Regions from separate parts of the Homo sapiens genome. Here regions 1, 2 and 3 are each linked to region 4. The links are contacts of gene promoters, found by promoter capture Hi-C in blood cells and fetal thymus (Javierre and others, 2016). All regions are on one chromosome and are shown on one strand. Each heading gives the region's core, a stretch centred on a gene start or on the middle of the fragment in contact. The rest is flanking DNA. Distances are from core to core; before and after follow the strand shown. Region 1 overlaps LOC107984326 (a long non-coding RNA gene). Region 2 overlaps TRIM44 (tripartite motif containing 44). Region 3 has its middle 120 kb from the start of LDLRAD3. Region 4 holds the start of COMMD9 (COMM domain containing 9).

Region 1 (2,700 bases), core at 5-2,504, 460 kb after region 4:
AAATCTTTTTTTTTTTGCTTAATCTTTTATTTTAGAGTTGTGTATTGATTTTCTATGACTGCCATAACAAATTATTACAAACTCAGTGGCTCAAAATTTAGGTCAGGCATGGTTTCTTATGCCTGTAATACTAGTACTTTGGGAGGCTAAGGTGGGAGGATGGCTTGAGCCCAGGAGTTCGAGGCCAGTTTGGGTATTAAAGTGAGACCCTATCTCTTAAAAAAAAAATAGCCAGGCACAGGGGTATAGCTTCAGCTACTTGGTAGGCTGAGGTGGGAGGATCGCTTGAGCCCAAGAGTTTGAGGTTGCAGAGAGCTATGATCGCATCACTGCACTCCAGCCTAGGTGACAAAGCGAGACCATTTCAATTGGGGTTTGAGGTGATGATTCGAAATCTACTCCTGAAATAATGAAAGGTTGCATTTTATAAAATGTTCTCATTTTCAAGGTATTTCCAGTTTTCCCTACCTATGGTAGCAAAATATAGTGCTTAAGAAGCTTGGGTTTTTAACCCAGTTGGACCTGGTTTCAAATGGTGTTTCCACTACAAACTTACTGTGTAACTTAGGGCAAGTGGATTAGCTCCACTGAGACTCAGTTTCCTAATCTATAAAATGGTATTGATAATAACACTTGCCTACATTGATAAGGCATGTTTTGGTTTTGCACAAAACCAAAAAATTGAAATCAAATTATTTGAGCAATAAAGTCCAGGAGCCATAGTAGCGTAAGGCAGTGCTTGGTCTGGGATCTTGAGCCCGTTTTCTCATTCTTTACTTCTGTGCTCTGTGTCCTCATTAATGGCTCTCAACTTGGAAGGATATCTTCTGATGTGCCCAAAGTGTCTGCTGGCACATAATGGGGCCATGTGCTCCATGTTCAAGCTCTGCAGGAATGAAAGAGATGATCTCAACATTCATGGTGAATTACTGAGGTTTCTTCTGACTGTACTGCTGAGGTCTTGTCGGCCCAATCAGAGAACCAACCAGTCACTGTGGTGAGGAACAGAGGGTGTGTAAACTGATTAAGCCAATCAAGATCCACCCCTGGAACTGGGGTTGAGGTCATTGCCACAAAACCACATGAGGGCAAATGGCAATGAGGGGTTGCTTTTCATAGGGAAATTTAGAGCATTATCAGGAGAGAGGGGGAATGGATGCTGGGTAGCAAATAGCAGCAGGTGTGTCCAGTTGGCTCCTTCTCATGAGATAATGAATATAAAGTATTTATTACAATCCTTGGCATGTAAGAAATGCCCAGTAAATATTAGCTTATTTACTTATTATTTTTCTACCTCTTAAGTGCGTGTGTACTCTTAGAGTTGTGTTTTGGTTTTCTATGACTTCCATAACAAATGACTACAAACACACACTATATATGTGTGTGTGTGTGTGTGTGTATACACATACACTTAAGAGGTAGAAAAATAATAAGTAAATAAGCTAATTTTCTTCTACCTAAGTGTGTGTAGAAATAAATACAATAAATAAATTATTAAATAAAATAAGCTAATATTAGTGTTTTACCTCTTAAGTGTGTGTGCACACACACACACACACACATATATACATATACACACACCTAAGAAGTAGAAAATACACATTCCCACAAATGATATGTGTACATGTAGAAAAAGTAGAAAGTACAGATAAATAGAGCAAGCACCTTTTATTGCTTTTATTGACAGCATTCCTCTTGTGGGAAGAGGGCTCAGGACAGCCTTTTTGCTGATAGGAAACTGAGACCCTTAGTGGAAAGAAGACTTGCCAAAGTTCACTTAGTGGAAGGATGGAAGCCAGACCCTAGGCCCCTTGGCCCCCAGCCCAGCTGTCTTTTTCTCTTGATTGCCTTGCTTTCATTAGCTGTGCTGCCTTTTCCAGGTGCCTTTCTGGAGCTGGACTTGGCAGCTAAACTGACAATGATGTATGTCCCTAGGAGTCCCCAGGAAGGGGACTTTGGAGCCACTATAAACACGCGGGGTAAGGACAGCAGCTACATCTGGAAGCCTGCAGAAGCTTCCATTCCAGGAAGTGCTGTCTGCTACGCTGTCCCTGTGTGTACCCCTTTTGCTGTCATAGTCTGCTTCAAACCTGTCAAAACATGAAAAACTGCCTATTAGGAGGCCGCTTCCAGCTGTTCTGTTCTATGCTCACTTTATAGCAATTTCCTCCCACTTTCTCCAAATGTTTCCATTAGGGAGGGAAGGGTCCCCAATGTAAGATTGCTCCCTGATGTTAGCAGGACACAAAATAGCCAAATGTATGTCAGAAAGCTGAAATCAGTTATTGCTGACAACAGTAATAGTGGTGTCTGGAATATGACCTAGTTTATTGCTCAGCACCTGGTCTTAGTTGATAAATTTTTTTTGAGAGACCAACTGGTCATGTAGGCATCCAAAGCAAAAAACAGCAGTGTGGTTATGGTAGGTACAAGTTGAGAGAGAGATAGAGAGAGAGAGAGAGAGGGAGAAGGTGACAGGAGAGAGCACAGATATGCTGATTTATTACCGGTAACAATTGCTACCATTCATTAAGTGTCAGGCACTGGGATATGTGTTTTAAACACATGTTCTTGAACCTTTACAACAACCATACAAAATAAATATCTTTATCCCCGTTCCAGTGATTAGAAAACTAGGGCCCAGAGAGGCTAAGCAACTCACCCAAGGTCACACAGCTACTAAATGAAGAAGCCCAATTC
Region 2 (2,700 bases), core at 198-2,697, 490 kb before region 4:
TTTACAATCCTTTAGCTAGACACAGAGCACTGATTGGTGCGTTTTTACAGAATGCTGATTGGTGCATTTACAATCCTTTAGCTAGACACAGAAAAGTTCTCCAACTTCCCACTCGACCCAGGAGGTCCAGCTGGCTTCACCTCTCAGTACCGGGCATCAACCCAGTATTTGGGCCCAGCCAGAAAGAGGTGAAAGGACTTGGAACATTTAGGCCATCCTTCAGATTGTGGTGATGGGATAGAGAGGGGCACAGGAAGCAAAGAGAGACAGCTGTATGAATGAGAGCAAATTAATTAGCTCAGCAAGTCTATATGTTGGAGGGAAGCTTTCTTAGTTTTTGTCTGGTTTGGAGTTTTCCTAAACTTTGCTTAAAATGCAAGGCATCCTAATTTCCCAGATAAGGATACTGGGTCCTAGAGTCACACAGCAGAACCAGGACTAGAACTCTGGTATTTTCATCATGTTTTTCTCAGTTAGCCCAAAATAGACCAAGGACATTTTACTTTATTTTGTAAAGTTCAGATCCCTTAAAGCACAGTAACCTCCTTATTTTCAGCTCAGGCTGTTGGGGCAGGTGAGTGTGGGACAGAGGGGACAAAGAAGGCAACTCGCTCTGTCTAGTAAAGAAAGGTCCCTGGATCCGAGTGTTTAGTCTGTCTCCCCAGCAGTGCTGATCGCATATTTACTGCAACTAGGCAACCACTTCCTCAGATACTGAAAGTGTGAGACTTCCCAATTGGCTCCTTGTACAATGCCCAGGCAGTGTAATTTTTGGAGAATATTAAATCTATCTTTTTGAATTTCAGCTGACTCTAGCCTTCGTTCCTTGTCAATACCTCTTAATTCCACCATCCTCCTGAGTTAAATAATCCTTTTACAGCAATAATCAATTAATAGATAACCAAGAACTCAGAAGACATGAGTGATGCCAAGTCACATTAAGTTGTACTATATGCTTAGGAAAAGAAACTATTAAACTTGCAAAGTCAGAATGCCTGCTACCTGATTTATTAACTTCCCCTTTATGCCCCTAAAGCTCTGGGGACAGAAGCCAAAAAGCTAAGCTGCCTATATATGCAGCCTAACTAAAAAATGGTCACAGTGAAACACTGTAAAATGATTATGATAAAATATAATCATTTTATCAGCAGGTGTTTAGGGTCTGAATGTGGAGCTTATGGCATGCCTCTGACATTTCAGTTTCACAGGCACCACATCAGACAGTAAGCCCAACTCAGAGAAGGGATACAGCATTCTGCTTACTGGAATGCCTTAGTCTCATTCTGTCACCCCATCCCCTACCCACAACCAAGAAAGTGTTAAATTTCACACCATCCTCCTGGTCAGAATTTAGGAGCTCCCAGTTCCTTTAGCTAAACTTTTTTGTTTTACATCCCCTAAAAGAAATTTTAAAAGTATGTGCCTTTTTGCCCGTTTTTAAATTAATTCCTGAAATCATAGTATCAAGTGTAAATCGTTGCTAAGGGTGTGCTCACTGACATATTGTGTAGTTTATATGAGTTTTTATATATATTTTTGTCAAAACTTTGGCACTGTGAATTTAGCTTATTAAATTTACAAGCAAAGGTGCACTATATAATCTAATTGGCAAAGCCAATTTTGGTGGTCAAACCATCCAGCCAAATCAGACTTGCTTTCTGTCAGATTAAGTCTGATTTCATTTTTTTCAATACAAATAAACATTAGCACACACCTCATGATAACCACCTCACTTTTGAATTTGAAGTGTTAGATCGATGGATAGATAGATAAAACACACAGCCTTGCCAAGAGTTTCCTGCCTGAATGAAAAAAGAGATTGTCTCCTTTACTATTGCTTGCGGTTCTCTCATAGGACTCCTCTAAGGGAGACATTCTAAAATTGTTACATGCTAAGATTCAGAAGGGTGAGTGAGAGTAGCATTTCTGCGGAAGTGTGGGAGTATGGTGATCTGTAAAGTGGGAGTGGCTGAAACAAGAACCTTACAGAGCACAGGCATGTTTCTGAGAAGGTAAGTTTTAGGAAGCAGTATATATGGAAGTTAAGGATTTGGACATTAATTTTCTTAAAACTACCCAGGCCCAAATACTTCCTGGAAAGTAATTACATACCACAAGGGTATCCATACCCCAGTTTTAAGGCCACCACTTTTAGATACAGCAGTACCCTCAAACTAGATCAGTGACCGAGCTAAGGCCGGTTAACTAAACTTCACTCCGTATTTGTTCTCCCCAGTGTTTGGCAGGCATGACTTTTCTTGAGACCTGCCACCTAGAAGGGTCAGAGTGATACTCAGCCTTTCTAGTTAGTACCTGTATTTCATTAGGTCTGGGTTGTCATTTAAAAAACTCTCCAAGTGAGCAAAGCAGGATACTGTTGCTCTCCAGATATTTGAAGGGTATTTGGGGATAGGAACACACTTGTTCTGGAATGTAATGTTTCAGCTGCCAGAGCTAGGAACATTTGAGGGAAAGGCAGGAGGAGGCAGGTTTTTATTCAGGATAAGAAGGAAGGTGGGTTGAGGAAGAAGGGTAACATTTTTTATCATTTGTATTGCATAAAATACATAAAGCTTTCACAGTAACCCTGGAAGATAGCATTTCGATGAGGAAACTGAGATTCAGAGATGTTAGTGACTTACGTAAGATCCCACAGTTTATTAGTTAATAACAGGCATTTGAACCTAGTTCAGTCTGGTG
Region 3 (2,722 bases), core at 218-2,717, 470 kb before region 4:
AACAGTGGGCCAAACAAAGTTAAATAGGTTTCTTCCCTGTAGAATTTCTGGGAGCTTTTAATATGTTCACGTGCATTGTAGAGCTTTCATGTAACAATTTTCTAGTTTTCTGGCAGTTCTGTGTAACAATTTTAGGAAACACTGATTTAGAGATGAATCTAACTCTTCCTGAGTTAACTGTTGAGAGAACAAAGGCCCAAAGAGATTCAAGGATTTGCTTAAGGTCACCTGGCTATTGGGAAAGCTGAGTTCTCCATATTTGACCACTGCATCCCAGAAGAGAATGTCTGTTTAGTGACTCAAGAGCCCACATTAGAACATTCTAGGAGACATCCCAAGGTTTCTCCCTTGATTCTAAAGGGAAGAGTTTGATAGGCTGCAATTCTCTGTCTCAGGACTTGCACAGACATTAACGTTCAGCATAGTGCAAGCTTCTTTGTCAGTGTGGTGCCGTCGGTAATATGGGGTGCAGCGCTGACAAGCTATGGTTCTCTCTCTCTTCCTCTCTCTCTCTCTCTTCTTTCCTCCCTCCCTCCTGGTTCTCTTTTCCAGGTTACATTCCAGGCTCACTATTGTCATACTCTTGAGTGATAGTAAAGAATAAAACAGCACTGACCTGCTTGATTAAGATCTCTACCGCATCGATATACTGATCACCAGGGTATTCAGGTGCCCAGTAAGCCTTGTGCATGGGAAGCCTCTTGACTCAAACGAATGGTGACTGGGAAACTGAGGTGGAAGGCCACTAAAGGTGGCAGTTTGTATCTGGCCTCTTAACAGTGTTCACCATGAAACATTCTCAAATGCCTTCCCTGATATGTTAGCCTGAGGCATCAGAGGAACCGTCAGGTGCCTTGTGGGGCTATCAGTGTGTGACAGGCAGCAACATGGGGGTGGGAGGTGTAGTAAGAGTAGGTGTGTGTGTGCAACACCAGAGGGAAATATAGGCATATCAGGAAGAATAATGACTTGGCACCCCTCCAAACTGCTATTGTTTAGATATTAGGTCAACATTTATTTAGAGAAGATGGAGGCAGGTGTGGGGTAGGGAGCTGGAGTCTGTGTCCCCACCTGCTTACCACACTCACAGAAATAAAAGCCCGGGCCCTCTTTTTAGAAGACCATTTAGGGACCATCTGTTGTTATTCCAGCCTAACCTTTTTGGGGTCTCACCCTATCCACTTCCAAATGGCTTTCAAATTATTTCTTCCAATCCCATACAATTACCTCCCTGAAAGGAGTTCTTGGAAGTGCAGTTTTGTCCATCTCATTAGTGAGGTTTTTGCAGCACTGCAACCCCCTCCCCCAACAAACTGGTCATATGTTGTGTGTGTGGTGATCAGGCTGGTGATTTAGTGAGGAGCCCACTCCTCATCTAGAAAGTATGCGTGACACCCAGATCACAACACTCCCCATGTGGTCACCGGCTGTCTCGTACAGAGTTCATGAACTTCCAAGTAAGAAGAGACACAAGAGTGGTATTTTCTTAGGAGATTATTAGACCCACCAGAAGGTAACAAGAGCATTTAGCAATGATAAAGAATAAATATCCCCACTTACTGGGGCAGCTCTCTTTCCTGTCTCTTCCTCATCCCTTTCCTCAGCTTCCTCCTACTCCTCTCCCAGAAATAAAGGAGCTTCATCTAGAAGAGCTCATGGACAACAAACATGCCTGGAAAAAGCTATTGCCTGATTGGCTCCCAGTTTTCATTGTGATGTTTCACACCTATCAAGTGACTTTGTTTTTAGAAATGCACAACCAAAGTATGGCCTTGAATTGGATCAACCCACCATCTCACTTCACAATACTCAGCCTAACATGACAAAACCACCAAGACAACCAGTTAATTTAACTGGAAAAAAAATCAGTTCAGCCAGTTGTTTGGCAGAGGTTAAGTAGAACTGTGTTGATTGAATTATGCATTTTAAAAGGAGGTTGCATAGGTACAGCTGAAGTGAAATCCTTTTGTGACCTTGAACTTGGATTTTTATATCAACATCAAAGATTTATTAATGAAGGCTCAAGATTTCCAATAAAAACTTTTCCAATTAAATGTTTCCAGTTGTCTTCCTTTCCCAGGTGAAGTGGCCAACTTCACTAAGCCCAGTGGCTGCCTTTTGCCCAAGCTCTCTATTCTTGAAATAGAGGTAAGTTGTCTTTGAGTGAATAATGGGAGGCATTCTAGATCAGAATGCCTGGGTCTGGCATTTACTAAGTCATTTTAAACCAGTAACTTATATGCCCTTTGCCTCCATTTCCTCATCTCCAAAATAGAACTTGCCACACTGGGTTGATAAGAGGATCAAATAAGATAATGGGTGAAAAGTGCTTAAAACCGTACCTGGCAAATAGTAAGTTATCAAGAAATGAAATAGTTATCAATATTAGCATCATTATCATAACTTGATTGGTGTAGTAATAAAACAGGTTATTGGATAGGAAATTTGGTGGTATCCAACCCCATTTTTAGAAATCTTCCTGAAAGAAATATGACATAGGTACAAAGCTTTTTGCATAAGAATGATCATGTAGCATTGCTTTTAAGGGCAAAAAATGTGGTAATGACGTCAGTATTCATTAATAGGGGACGGGCTAAGTGTCTGAGGATCTGTCCTTGTAGAAGAACACTCTCCAGAAAATCAAGGTTAGGTTTGTCTCTGCTGACTCAGCCCAGCAAACAGTGCTTCCGAAAATCACTGAGGCCTCCAAGTTCAGATTGGC
Region 4 (2,888 bases), core at 142-2,641:
AGCAGCCAAAATGAAGGTGAAAAGGCACTGGGTTGGGAGCTGAGAGCCCTAGATTGCCAGTCCCAGCTCTGTTACTTCATTTATTAATTCATTTAACAGCTATTTACTGAGCACGTGCTGTGTGCCAGGTATTATTGTTCTACTTATTGGGCATTAACACTTGTGAACAAAAGAGTAGATCCCCTTAGGAGTGGAGAATGCTAATGAACACTGAGAAGGCAATTAAAAAATAAATAAGTAAAACAAAACAGAGACTATTACATGGACCGATGATGATGATGTGCCATAAATTGAGGAGAGTAACTCAACCCTCTTCACCTGGTGTTTAAAAAAAAAAAAAAAGAGAGAGGAAGAAAGGAAAGGTCCCTGATGGATCTTACATTCTTATGAGACAGACGGACAACGGGCAAATAGCTAGCGACAAGTTCTACGAAGGAAAATAAAGCTGCCCTTTCTCCTACAGGGCAAATCATAAGTTAAATAATTCCGGCCAGGCGCGGTGGCTCACGCCTGTAATCCCAACACTTTGGAAGGCGGAGGCGAGTGGATCACGCGGTCAGGAGTTCAAGACCAGCCTGGCCAAGATGTTGAAACCCCGTCTCTACTAAAAATACATAAATTTGCCAGGCTTGGTGGCGGGCGCCTGTAATCCCAGCTACTCGGAAGGCTGAGGCATAGAATTGCTTGAACTCGGGGGGCGGAGGTTGCAGTGAGCCGAGATTGCGCCACTGCTCTCCAGCCTGGACAACAGAGCTAGACTCCGTCTCAAATAATAATAATACTTCATTTGAGCTTTACAAAGCCCTATGAAGTAGGTCCCTTTCAACCTCACAACTTTTCAAATGATTATCAGGAGTATGTCCTGCCCCTTTCGCAGGTCAAAGAGAGTAGGGAAAATCTGGACCTCAAGGGAACATTGAACGCACAGGTCATTCGGAGGGCTGGGCAGACGCAGTAGGAGATAATTTCTTAATTGTGCAATGCAGGAGGGGCTACGGGATGAAATGGGGAACTGACAACGTGGGTCTAGCAATTACCACTTCAATGCACCAATACCGAAAACCAATCCCAAAGACTAATAGCAGGAGGTTGTACTGCGCCTTCATGCCCATTATTTTATTTTTTTTTATCTTACGTTCCTGTCAAAACGATATTTTGTTCTTACTTTTTAAAAGCTCAGAAAGACGCAACGATTTGCCTGGGATCACACAGAGAACAAGCAGCAGAGTTGTGGCTCCAAACCAGGGTCAATTTGTTCCCAATTCCTGCTCCGTCTAAAGTCTCGGAGACAAAGGGCCACCTCACGCTGTCCCCACCCCTTCGACTTACCTTGAGCAGGCTCTGGAGTGCTGCAAAATGCTCCGCTGTCAGGGCAGCCATCTTGCCGAAGTCACATGACCGTGGCACCCAGGGAAGCGAGGTCACGTGGCTGTCGCTGTTGTCGCGGGGCCTGCCGGGGGCTGTAGTCCTTCAGAGTGGGGGAAGGCGTTTCGGTTGTGGTGCTGCGGCAGTGAGCGCGGATCAAGACGGACGCGGCGGCTGGATGACTAAACCCCGAGACTCTAGAACCAAAGGACTAGGGGGACCAGGGCGGAGGATGGTTTACTCGGGGAGGAAATTGGCTTGACTTGTCTACTTACCAAGTCAGGGAAACAGGTTTTCCCTTGACCCATGTGGGTGGGCTGGCGCACTTGGGGAATGCACCTGCAAGCTTGGCAGGCGCCTTGGAAACGTAGTTGTTCAGGAGTGATCGGCGTACCAGTGTTTGGAATGAAAATGAGGCTGTGCATATCGGGCTTCTTGGAATTGACACACACACATGCACACATCCTGTCTTGAATGTAAAATTACTTCTGCGTATATAGTTTTTCAGCCTATGTAGTAGGTTGGAGCTGGTATTATTAGTATTATCCAGATTGGGAAATAATCATTTAGGGTTTTTAGTAACTTTCCCATAGTCATAGAGAAGATCTGATTACAAGAGCAGGTGAGGAAGTGTTTGGGAGAGGGGACAAGAGAGGAATGGAATGAAAGCTACTACCTAGCTAGGTTCTTGTTATACGGGGGTGAGATGGGGGAGGAGGTTAATGGAAATGATTTAGTTCATTTATTCAAAAAGGTAATTATAATGAATATAATTGTAAAGAGTGATTTTGCACTGGCAGTACTGGACTCTGATTTGCCCTGTTCTCAGAGACCGTACATCAAAACAGACATTTCCTTTATCTACCTTTAGTATTTGGGTGGCTCTTTTCTTTTCCTACCCTCCACTTTTTTTTAAGCAAATTCCAGCTCAAAAAATGGGTTCTGATATATTCGAGCTTAAGAAAGAATGCCCATTTGTGAAATTCCAGAAATTGGTAAGCTGCTAAGGACATTTGTTCCTTTGTCTCCTCTCCTCCCCCTTCCCCTTCCCCGACTCCATTTTCTGTGGGGATGTTGTCAAGGCCCAGGAAACCAAAAATCAAATTGTCTAAGGAGGAACCCATTCCTGGATTAGAAGATTTTAGAACCATTTTGTCACAGGGTCCTGATTCTAGCTCTCTTTCTTGGCCTCTCTTTTCCATGAACCCTCATGGCCTGATTCCTGGTTTCTGTTATAACTCAATGTAGGTTCTAGGTTTAACTCCTGCCTGTATCTATAGGGCTGGGCCCATTGTCTTGGGTTAATTGAATATTTGTTAAATAAACAACCACCCAAAAAAGTGATTAGACTAAGATGAAATTTTGTGACTTATTTGAGGATATTGCCTTGGTATTTGCAGGATTGTGCCTTCTTGTCTTACTTTAGAGTAATGAGGAGTGTGGTCACCAGCCTTCAAGATGGCCCTCAATGATCCCAGCCTCCTGGTGTTCACAACCTAGTGTAGACACCTCCCACCATGTAC

What was found. Contacts are between HindIII fragments. The CHiCAGO score rates a contact against its expected background, and 5 or more counts as called.
Region 1: a fragment that was not itself captured here is called in contact with the fragment with the promoter of COMMD9 in region 4 in 1 of 17 cell types (fetal thymus); the score reaches 5.4 in fetal thymus.
Region 2: a fragment that was not itself captured here is called in contact with the fragment with the promoter of COMMD9 in region 4 in 1 of 17 cell types (M0 macrophages); the score reaches 6.0 in M0 macrophages.
Region 3: a contact is called between a fragment that was not itself captured here and the fragment with the promoter of COMMD9 in region 4, in 3 of 17 cell types (erythroblasts, M2 macrophages and M1 macrophages). The highest score is 6.7, in erythroblasts.

Annotation. Positions count from the first base shown.
Region 1 is chr11:36,749,547-36,752,246 of GRCh38, forward strand. The region is part of intron 3 of LOC107984326 (a long non-coding RNA gene); the gene reads left to right. Among named protein-coding and RNA genes, the nearest start is that of RAG2, 150 kb to the left of the region's middle. RefSeq lists an enhancer at 778-1,348. The HindIII fragment of the contact is 1,517 bases long and covers 497-2,013 here.
Region 2 is chr11:35,800,485-35,803,184 of GRCh38, forward strand. The region is part of intron 4 of TRIM44 (tripartite motif containing 44); the gene reads left to right. Among named protein-coding and RNA genes, the nearest start is that of TRIM44, 140 kb to the left of the region's middle. The HindIII fragment of the contact is 2,248 bases long and covers 324-2,571 here.
Region 3 is chr11:35,818,102-35,820,823 of GRCh38, forward strand. No RefSeq gene overlaps it. Among named protein-coding and RNA genes, the nearest start is that of LDLRAD3, 120 kb to the right of the region's middle. The HindIII fragment of the contact is 2,076 bases long and covers 430-2,505 here.
Region 4 is chr11:36,288,033-36,290,920 of GRCh38, forward strand. It overlaps COMMD9 (COMM domain containing 9), which reads right to left and starts at 1,392. Exons shown (of 6, transcript NM_014186.4): 1 at 1,330-1,392. The coding sequence starts at 1,380. RefSeq lists enhancers at 754-1,456, 1,293-1,542. The HindIII fragment of the contact is 8,947 bases long and covers 1-1,709 here.